3 separate regions of the Homo sapiens genome follow, and regions 2 and 3 are each linked to region 1. Evidence: promoter capture Hi-C in human tissues and cell types (Jung and others, 2019). All regions are on one chromosome and are shown on one strand. Each heading gives the region's core, a stretch centred on a gene start or on the middle of the fragment in contact. The rest is flanking DNA. Distances are from core to core; before and after follow the strand shown. Region 1 holds the start of TBC1D9B (TBC1 domain family member 9B). Region 2 overlaps SQSTM1 (sequestosome 1). Region 3 overlaps RNF130 (ring finger protein 130).

Region 1 (2,700 bases), core at 50-2,549:
ATTAGTTCAGACTTCCAAGGTGTTGAAGAAAGCCCGCCTCTGCATCTTGAAAGCTGATTCCTATATCCAGCAACATTGAAGAAGACTGCAGATCACTCTGGGTGTCAACTGCATGTACCTACATCCATCGCACCAAGATTCTTGAGTGCCAATCACAGAAACCCACCTGGAAGTCAGGTCCAGCTCCAAGGATGGTTTAACTGCCCCCTTCCCTTTGCCCTCTAGCCAGACCCTGGTGAGGGTTCCAGCCAGCAGGGTGACCCCACATCCCAGTCGACCCCGGACAGGCCCCAGGCCCGTTGTCCCAGGTGGAGTTGACAGCCCCCTCATGCAGAAGGCTGTGTGTGGACTGGCGCTGCCCCTGCAGGCCAACACTGGGAGACCAGGGACCCGCATTCGCCTGCAGCCAGCCTCACACTTGCGCAGAAGCCGCCACTGGGCCCAGGGCCAGTCCAGACCCCATCCCCAGGGCCGGCCAGCCTCTGTGACCCGTCTGTCAGGGGAGGGGCAGCACTGATTTCCAAGGATGCAGCCCGTATCAGGGCCTCCTGGCACCTGCCCTGCGCTGGAAGATTCTTCTAGTCTCCCGGCCCCAGTGTCAGAATTCTGAGAACTGGCCGGGCGCGATGGTTCACTCCTGTAATCCCAGGACTTGGGAGGCCAATGTAGGCGGATCACCCGAGGTCAGGAGTTCGAGACCAGCCTGGCCAACATGGTGAAACCCCGTCTCTACTAAAAATACAAAAAAATTAGCCGGGCGTGTTGGCGGGAGCCTGTAATCCCAGCTAAAGAGGCTGGGGCAGGAGAATCACTTGAACCCGGGAGGCAGAGGTTGCAGTGAGCTGAGATTGCGCCACTGCACTCCAGCCTGGGCGACACAGCAAGACTCTGTCGAAAAAAAAAAAAGAAAAGAAAGCTGAGAATTAGGAGGAACTGCAAACCCTTTCCAGGCGCCCTTTGCAGTGCTAACACGCCCCGGGTTGCACGCGCAACCAGCCAAAAGCCGCCAAACTCTGCTTCTTGACATCCTTCTCTCACACTGCACAGCTTTCAAAACGCCAGAAGCCCTGCTCTGCACAGCGGCTCCCCTGTCTGCGGACTGGGCCGTTCCGTTCTGGACCCAGGCCGGAGGCCGTGGGCTGCACCGCTCCAGGAGGCCAGGCTGGCGCGCGCCCGAGGCCGGGGCTGAGGGGGCGGCGCGGAACTCGGGCCGCGTGCGGGAGCGCCACACGCCCGCCAGGGGGCGCCGCCCGCCCGGCCCCGCCCCGCCCCGGCCCGCTCCGCACGCTCCGCTCCGCACGCTCCGCTCCGGGACGCCGACGGCGGCGGGCGCTTCCGTCTCGCGGGCCTCGGCCCGGTGCGAGCGGCTCCGCGATGTGGCTGAGCCCGGAGGAGGTGCTGGTGGCCAATGCGCTGTGGGTGACGGAGCGGGCCAACCCCTTCTTCGTGCTGCAGCGACGCCGGGGCCACGGCAGGGGCGGCGGCCTTACGGGTGAGAGGCGCGCGGGCGGCCGGGCCTGTGGGCGCCGCGGCTGGGCTGGCGGCGGGGCTGGCGGCGGGCGGCGGGCGGGTCCGGTTCCGGCCCGGCCTCGGCGCGTCGCGGCGGACACGCACGCCAGCGCGCGGCGGGGCGGGGGCGCGAGGCCAGGACCCGGGAGCCGGGCGCGGAGGGGCCGGGGCGGGGAGGCGAGGGGCTGGCGGGAGGCGAATGCGCCCTCGGCGGGCTCTCCTCAGGTCGGCTTGGGGCGGCCAAGTGGAGACCGGCGGCGGCTTCTGCCCGGATTCGGCGCCCGCGAGCCCCGGGGGCCGTGCAGCTTCCCGGGATCTCACCGCCGAAAGTTGGCGAGACCGCCCTGTCCTCATCCTCCACCTCAGTTTCCCCAGGTGCCTCTAAGGGGCCAGGTGACGCCAGCGCACGTTTTCTTTTGCCCTCTTCTTCGTGCCCATCTCACCAAAGTATCGCCCTTTTAGCAAGATCAGAGGTCCCTGGAGCTGGCCGCACCCCCATTCCCCCAGCTTCTCCTCCCCCACCTTTCCTGCTCCTGGCTGCTCTCAGAGCTGCGCACCCAAGGCTGTGGGTAGCGGCACAGGGTGTTCCTGCAAGCTCGCCAAGGTGGCCCTTTGTGGGCCCGGGTGCCACCATCACACAGGATGAAGCTGGACAGGCACCCTTGGAGTCGTGCGGCCTGTGGGATCCAGGGGAGGCCCACAGGCCACTCCCTCCGCAGGTGGTGTCCGGGGCCCCTCATGCTCCAGGGCCTGCGCCCAGCACTGCAGGAGCCCGGCTGGCTCGGGCTCAGTGCCTGTGCTCTTCGGGGCACCGACTGTTGCCCTACAGGATTGCGGTCCCAGTGTTGCCAGGTCGTCCAGTTTATCAAGAGCATTTTCTGTGAATCATCCTGATTTTCAGTGTGAGCAGCTAATAGCCAGATGCAGACGGAGGCTTCTCCTGGGCCACGTTTCTTCATGTGGAAGAGACTGTTCTGTTCCCAGAAACACTCAGTGTTCCCTTCAGCTTCGGGTTCCCTCCCAGTGGGCTTCAAGGATCTCGGGCTCCTGTTCTGGACCCGCCTCCTAGATCCAGCTGTTCAGTCGGCAGCCCCTGTGGCTAACCTCGAAGCTACTGCAAGCCCGATGAAGAAAGCGAGGGACCGGCACCTTTTCTTCCGCCAGCGCGCCAGGGTGTCATCAGCGCGCCAG
Region 2 (2,700 bases), core at 145-2,644, 78 kb after region 1:
AGCGCAGTGCCGCAATCTCTCGGCTCACTGCAGCCTCTGCCCACCAGGTTCAAGTGATTCTCCTGCCTCAGCCTCCCGAGTAGCTGGGACTATAGGCACGTGCCACCACGCCCAGCTAATTTTTATATTTTTAGTAGAGACGGGGTTTCACCATGTTGGCCAGGCTGGTCTTGAACTCCTGACCTCAGGTGATCTGCCTGCCTTGGCCTCCCAAAGTGCTTGGATTACAGGCATGAGCCACTGCACCCAGCCTGCCTTCTCTTTGCATTTGCTAACTTTCCCTATGTTCTCCCACAGCATCTCCATAGTTTTCTACAAGGGTGAAGTGGATCAGAGACCCCACTGGTTCTGGTGTTTTCCATAGAGAGTGCCGCTTGCTGTGCAGCCTCCTGTTCCAGCCAGGACTGGCAGCTCTCTGGGCAGAGGCTGCGCTGTGATGCTGTGACCCCCTTTACGTTCACCCTCTGTCCTGTTAGGTCCCCCGTTTCCTAATACCTCTGTGCTTCATTTTGGGTTTCTCTCTTCATGTGGTTCAAACCAAGGTTAAAATAATTAAGACTGTATACCAGAAAGTAACTTTGTTCTGCCCTGATACTTGATCGTTTTAGCTGGGTATAGAATTCTAGGCTGGACCAGGCACAGTGACTCATGCATGTAATCCTAACACTTTGGGAGAACAACATGAGAAATCTCTTGAGCCCAGGAGTTCAAAATCGGCCTGGGCAGCATGGCAAGACCCCATCTCTACAAAAAAATTTTAAAATAGCTGGGCACGGGGCTGGGCACAGTGGCTCATGCCTGTAATCCCAGCACTTTGGGAGACGAAGGCAGGTAGATCATGAGGTCAGGAGTTCAAGACCAGCCTGGCCAAGATGGTGAAACCCCATCTCTACTAAAAATATAAAAATTAGCCAGGCATGGTGGCGGGTGCCTGTAATCCCAGCTACTCGGGAGGCTGAGGCAGAAAATTGCTTGAACCCAGGAGGTGGAAACTGCAGTGAGCTGAGATCACGCCGCTGCACTCCAGCCTGGGCGACAGCGAGACTCTGACTCGGGGGTGGGGAAAGAAAAAGAAAAAAAAAAATATCTAGGCACAGTGGCACATGCCTGTAGTCCCAGCTACTGGGGAGGCTGAAGCAGAAGGATCACTTGAGCCCACGAGATGAAGACAACTGTACCACTGCTCTCCAGCCCAGATGACAGTGAGACCCGGTTTCAAAAACAAAAGAATTCTAGGCCGAAAAGCCTTTTTAACTGATTTCTGGAGTCATCAGTTGTTCCATTGTCTCCTAGCTGTTCATGTTTGTTTGCTCTTTGTATTCCCAAGTATTTACAATAACCTAGAGTTTTAGAAGCCCCTCTTTCTTTATCCTCAGGGTTCTGACACTTGACAATGATAAGCTTTGCTGTGGGGTCTTTCTCAGTCATTGTCAGGGCCGCTTTCAATCTAGAAGATAATGGCCTCATTGCCAAGAAACTATCTTGCATTTTTGTTTTTTGTTTTGTTTTGTTTTGTTTTGTTTGAGACAAGGTCTGTTTCTGTCTCCCAGGATGGAGTGCAGTGGTACAATCCAGGCTCGTTGCACCCTCTGCCTTCCAGGCTCAAGCCATCCCCAACCTCAGCCTCCCACGTAGCTGGGGCCATAAGTACACAACTCCATGCCTGGCTAATTTTCATAGTGTTTGTAGACACGGGAAGTGGGGGATGGTGTCTCCCTATGTTGCCAAGGCTGGTCTCAAACTCGTGAGCTCAAGTCATCTGCCTGCCTTGGTCTCCCAAAGTGTTGGGATTACAGGCATGAGCCACCATGCCTGGTGCCAAGAAACTATCTTGCATTCTATGTTCATTTCCTCCTTTCAGTTTTCTATTCTTTCTGGAATTCCTACTCATCCTATATTGGGCTTCTAGACTTGTTCCTACATTAGGAGGAGAGGAAAGATAAAAAAACTATCTCTATTTTGCTTTTGGAATATCTCCTTGAGACAATAGTAGAATCTAAGCCTTCTTTTGAAGTTTTTTTTCTATTTTTTAATTTTAAGAACTTTCTTATTCTGTTCCCTTTGTTATCCTTTTTCTAGTATCCTGTTCCTTTTTCATGCAGACAATGCTCTTTTGTATCTCACTGAGGACATTAACATTCTCTTCCCTTTAAGACCTTTTCTCCCATGTGTGGGGGCTTTCCTCAGATGGCTGGTGACCCAGGGGTCTGATCCCACTGAAGCACTAAGGTTGACAGGAAGCCTTCTGTGGGGCCAGCGCCATCACTAACTTTCCCTCTGCAGGGTGCCTGGGGGTCTGGCAGGCAGGAGCTGTAGGACACTTCTCTGGGGGCATTCAACCTCCCTCAGCAGGGACTCCCCACCTCCTGCCTGGCCAGGGAACTGACTGCTGGGCCCATTGCTCATTCGGGATGCCCAGTTTCAGGCTGGTGCCTCACCCTGGCCTGTCTCTAGTATCCCATGCTGAAGCTTCCCTGGGTCAGGTGCTCCTGGAATTAAACATGAGGTCTCCTTCAATTGTTGGCAAGAGCCATCATCTGGCCAAGTGGGCCCTGAAGTCTCTAGCTGACACTCCCTAGAGGTTTTCAACCCTCCCCCCTTGTTCCTGTCCCCCGATCACTCCCACCTCTTGCCTTTCCTGGTACCTGAACAGATGGTCTTCCTTCTCACCAGGATGCCCTGTTCTGGCACAGAGATTTC
Region 3 (2,700 bases), core at 23-2,522, 100 kb before region 1:
TCCTGGATTGATTGGAGCTCATTGGATTTTGCATTCAGTTGTCTCTTCTTACTTGGTTTTATGACATGGACGTTTCTGAAAAGTACAGATCAATTATTTTGTATTTGAGTTTATCCGACGTGTTGTGTTCCTTCGTGATTAGTTTCAGGTTATATGCGTTTTGTGAAAATGTAGATTTGCTTGCATTTGTAAGAGATAATACAAATACAAAGATGTCTCTTATCCCCTTCACTCATTTCTCCTTGTGGTAACAACATGTATAACTGTGGTCAGTATCATAACCTGGAAATTGGCATGGATGCAATCCACTGATCTTCCTAAATACACTGAAATCTCCCCACCTCTCCAGTTTAATGTGTACTTATTTGTGTATGTGTGTGTCTGTCTTTAGTCTGTGTAGTTTTATCGCATGTGTAGATTCACATGACCAACAACACGGTCAGGATACAGACCAGTTCCATCACAAGGAACCCTTGTGCTACTCTTTTATAACCACAGCCACCTCCCTCCTTCCCCCTTCCCTAATCTACCAGGAATCTGTTTCTCATCTCTATAGTTTTGTCATTTCAAGAATGTTAAATAGGTGGAATCATGGGCCAGGCACGGTGGCTCACACCTGTAATCCCGGCACTTTGGGAAGCCAAGGCAGGTGGATCACTTGAGGTCAGGAGTTCAAGACCAGCCTGGCCAACATGGCAAACCCCATCTCCACTAAAAATACAAAAATGTAGCTGGGCAAGGTGCCATGCGCCTGTAGTCCCATCCATTCAGGAGGCTGAAGCACGAGAATTGCTTGAACTTGGGAGGCAGAGGCTGCAGTGAGCCATGATCGTACCACTGCACTCCAGCCTGGGTGACAGAGTGAGACTCTGTTTCAAAAAAATAAAGAAAAAAATGTTATATAGGTGGAATCATATAGTATGTAACCTCTAGAGTTTGGAATTCTTCACTTCCTCACTCAGCATAATTACCTTGAGATACTTTTTTTTTTTTTTTTTTTTTTTTTTTTGAGATGTAGTCTCACTGTCGCCGAGGCTGGAGTGCAGCGGCTGGATCTCAGCTTACTGCAAGCTCCGCCTCCCAGGTTCACGCCATTCTCCTGCCTCAGCCTCCGGAGTAGCTGGGACTACAGGTGCCTGCCACCGTGCCTGGCTAATTTTTTGTATTTTTAGTAGAGATGGGGTTTCACCGTGTTAGCCAGGATGGTCTCGATCTCCTGACCTTGTGATCCGCCCACCTCAGCCTCCCAAAGTGCTGGGATTACAGGCGTGAGCCACTGCGCCCGGCCAAGATACTTTCAAGTTGTTATGTGTATCAGTCATTTATTCCTTTTTATGGCCGAACTATATCCCATGGTTTGGATGTACCACCGTTTGTTTAATTGCTCGCTCATTGAAGGATATCTGGGATGTTTTCAGATTTTGGCTATTACAAATAAAGCAGCTGTGAACAATCACATACAGGTTTTGGTGTAAACATGAGTTTTCGTTTCCCTGGGATAAATGTGTAATTTCTGAGTTCAGTGTAAATTCCAAGAGTGAAGTTTTTGGGCTGTTAAGATAAGTGCATATTTAGTTCTGTAGGAAACTGTTAGACTCATTTTGCAAAGTGGCCATACCATTTTGCATTCCTGCTAGAAATGTATGACTGATCCAGTTCCTCCACACTCTCGACAGCACTTGGTGTTTTCATCTCTTGTGATTGTTGAGTTGTGTAGTAACATCTCTTGTGGTTTTAGTTTGCATTTCTCTAATTAGACATTTTTTATGTGCTTGTTTGCCATCCGTATATCCTCTTCAGTGAAATATCCATTCATGTCTTTTGCCCATTTTCTACCTAGATTGTTTTTCACTGTTGAATTTTGAGAGCTTTTTATGTATTCCAGATACAAGTCCTTCGTCAAATATGTGGCTTGCAGAGATTATCTCCCAGTCTGTATTTTGTTTTGTTCAACCTCTTAACAAGGTCTTTGAAAAGCAAAAATTTCTAATTTTTATGGTTTATTAATTTTTTCTTTTATGAATTGTGCTTTTGGTGTCAAGTCTAAAAATTCTTTACTTATCCCTAGATATCCCAAAGATTTTCTACTATTTTTCCTGGAAGTTTTATATTATGTTTTACATTTAAGTCTGTGATTAGTTTATTTGAAGGCTTTCCTGTTTTCTAATGTAAGAATTAAGTGCTATAAATTTCTCTCTCAGCACTTCTTTAAGGCTATGCCTCACATATTTTGATATGCTGTATTTTCATTTTCATTCAGTCCTATGTATTTTTTTCTTTTGAGACTTCTTCTTTTACCCATACATTACTGAGAAGTATGTTATTGAATTTCCAGTAGTTTAGATATTTTACTTTTTTTTTTTTCCTTTTGAGAGAGGGTCTTACTCTGTCACCCAGGCTGGAGTGCAGTGATACGATCTCAGCTCACTGCAACCTCCACCTCCCGGGTTCAAGTGATTCTCTGACCTCTGCCTCCCGAGTAGCTGCGATTACAGGCGCATGCCACCGTGTCCGGCTAACTTGTATTTTTTGGTAGAGATGAGGTTTCACTGTGTTGCCCAGGCTGGTCTTGAACTCCTGACCTCAAGCGATCTGTGCACCTCAGCCTCCCAAAGTGCTGGGATTACAGACATGAGCCACTGTGTCCTGCCAAGATTTTACTATTATCTTAGTGTTACTGATTTCTGGTTTGATTCCATT

Evidence for each region. Contacts are between HindIII fragments. The study calls those that stand out against the background at their distance.
Region 2: a fragment that was not itself captured here is called in contact with the fragment with the promoter of TBC1D9B in region 1 in 8 of the 25 tissues and cell types used here (H1 embryonic stem cells, adrenal gland, dorsolateral prefrontal cortex and 5 more).
Region 3: a contact is called between a fragment that was not itself captured here and the fragment with the promoter of TBC1D9B in region 1, in 8 of the 25 tissues and cell types used here (H1 embryonic stem cells, dorsolateral prefrontal cortex, hippocampus and 5 more).

The regions. Positions count from the first base shown.
Region 1 is chr5:179,906,496-179,909,195 of GRCh38, reverse strand. TBC1D9B (TBC1 domain family member 9B) reads left to right here and starts at 1,299. Exons shown (of 21, transcript NM_015043.4): 1 at 1,299-1,492. The coding sequence starts at 1,375. RefSeq lists silencers at 1,148-1,307, 1,378-1,437, 1,448-1,587, 1,638-1,687 and an enhancer at 1,568-2,345. The HindIII fragment of the contact is 17,290 bases long and covers 1-2,700 here.
Region 2 is chr5:179,828,932-179,831,631 of GRCh38, reverse strand. All of the region lies in intron 5 of SQSTM1 (sequestosome 1), which reads right to left. Among named protein-coding and RNA genes, the nearest start is that of SQSTM1, 9.4 kb to the right of the region's middle. The HindIII fragment of the contact is 6,404 bases long and covers 1-2,700 here.
Region 3 is chr5:180,008,554-180,011,253 of GRCh38, reverse strand. All of the region lies in intron 3 of RNF130 (ring finger protein 130), which reads left to right. Among named protein-coding and RNA genes, the nearest start is that of MIR340, 5.5 kb to the left of the region's middle. The HindIII fragment of the contact is 5,868 bases long and covers 1-2,700 here.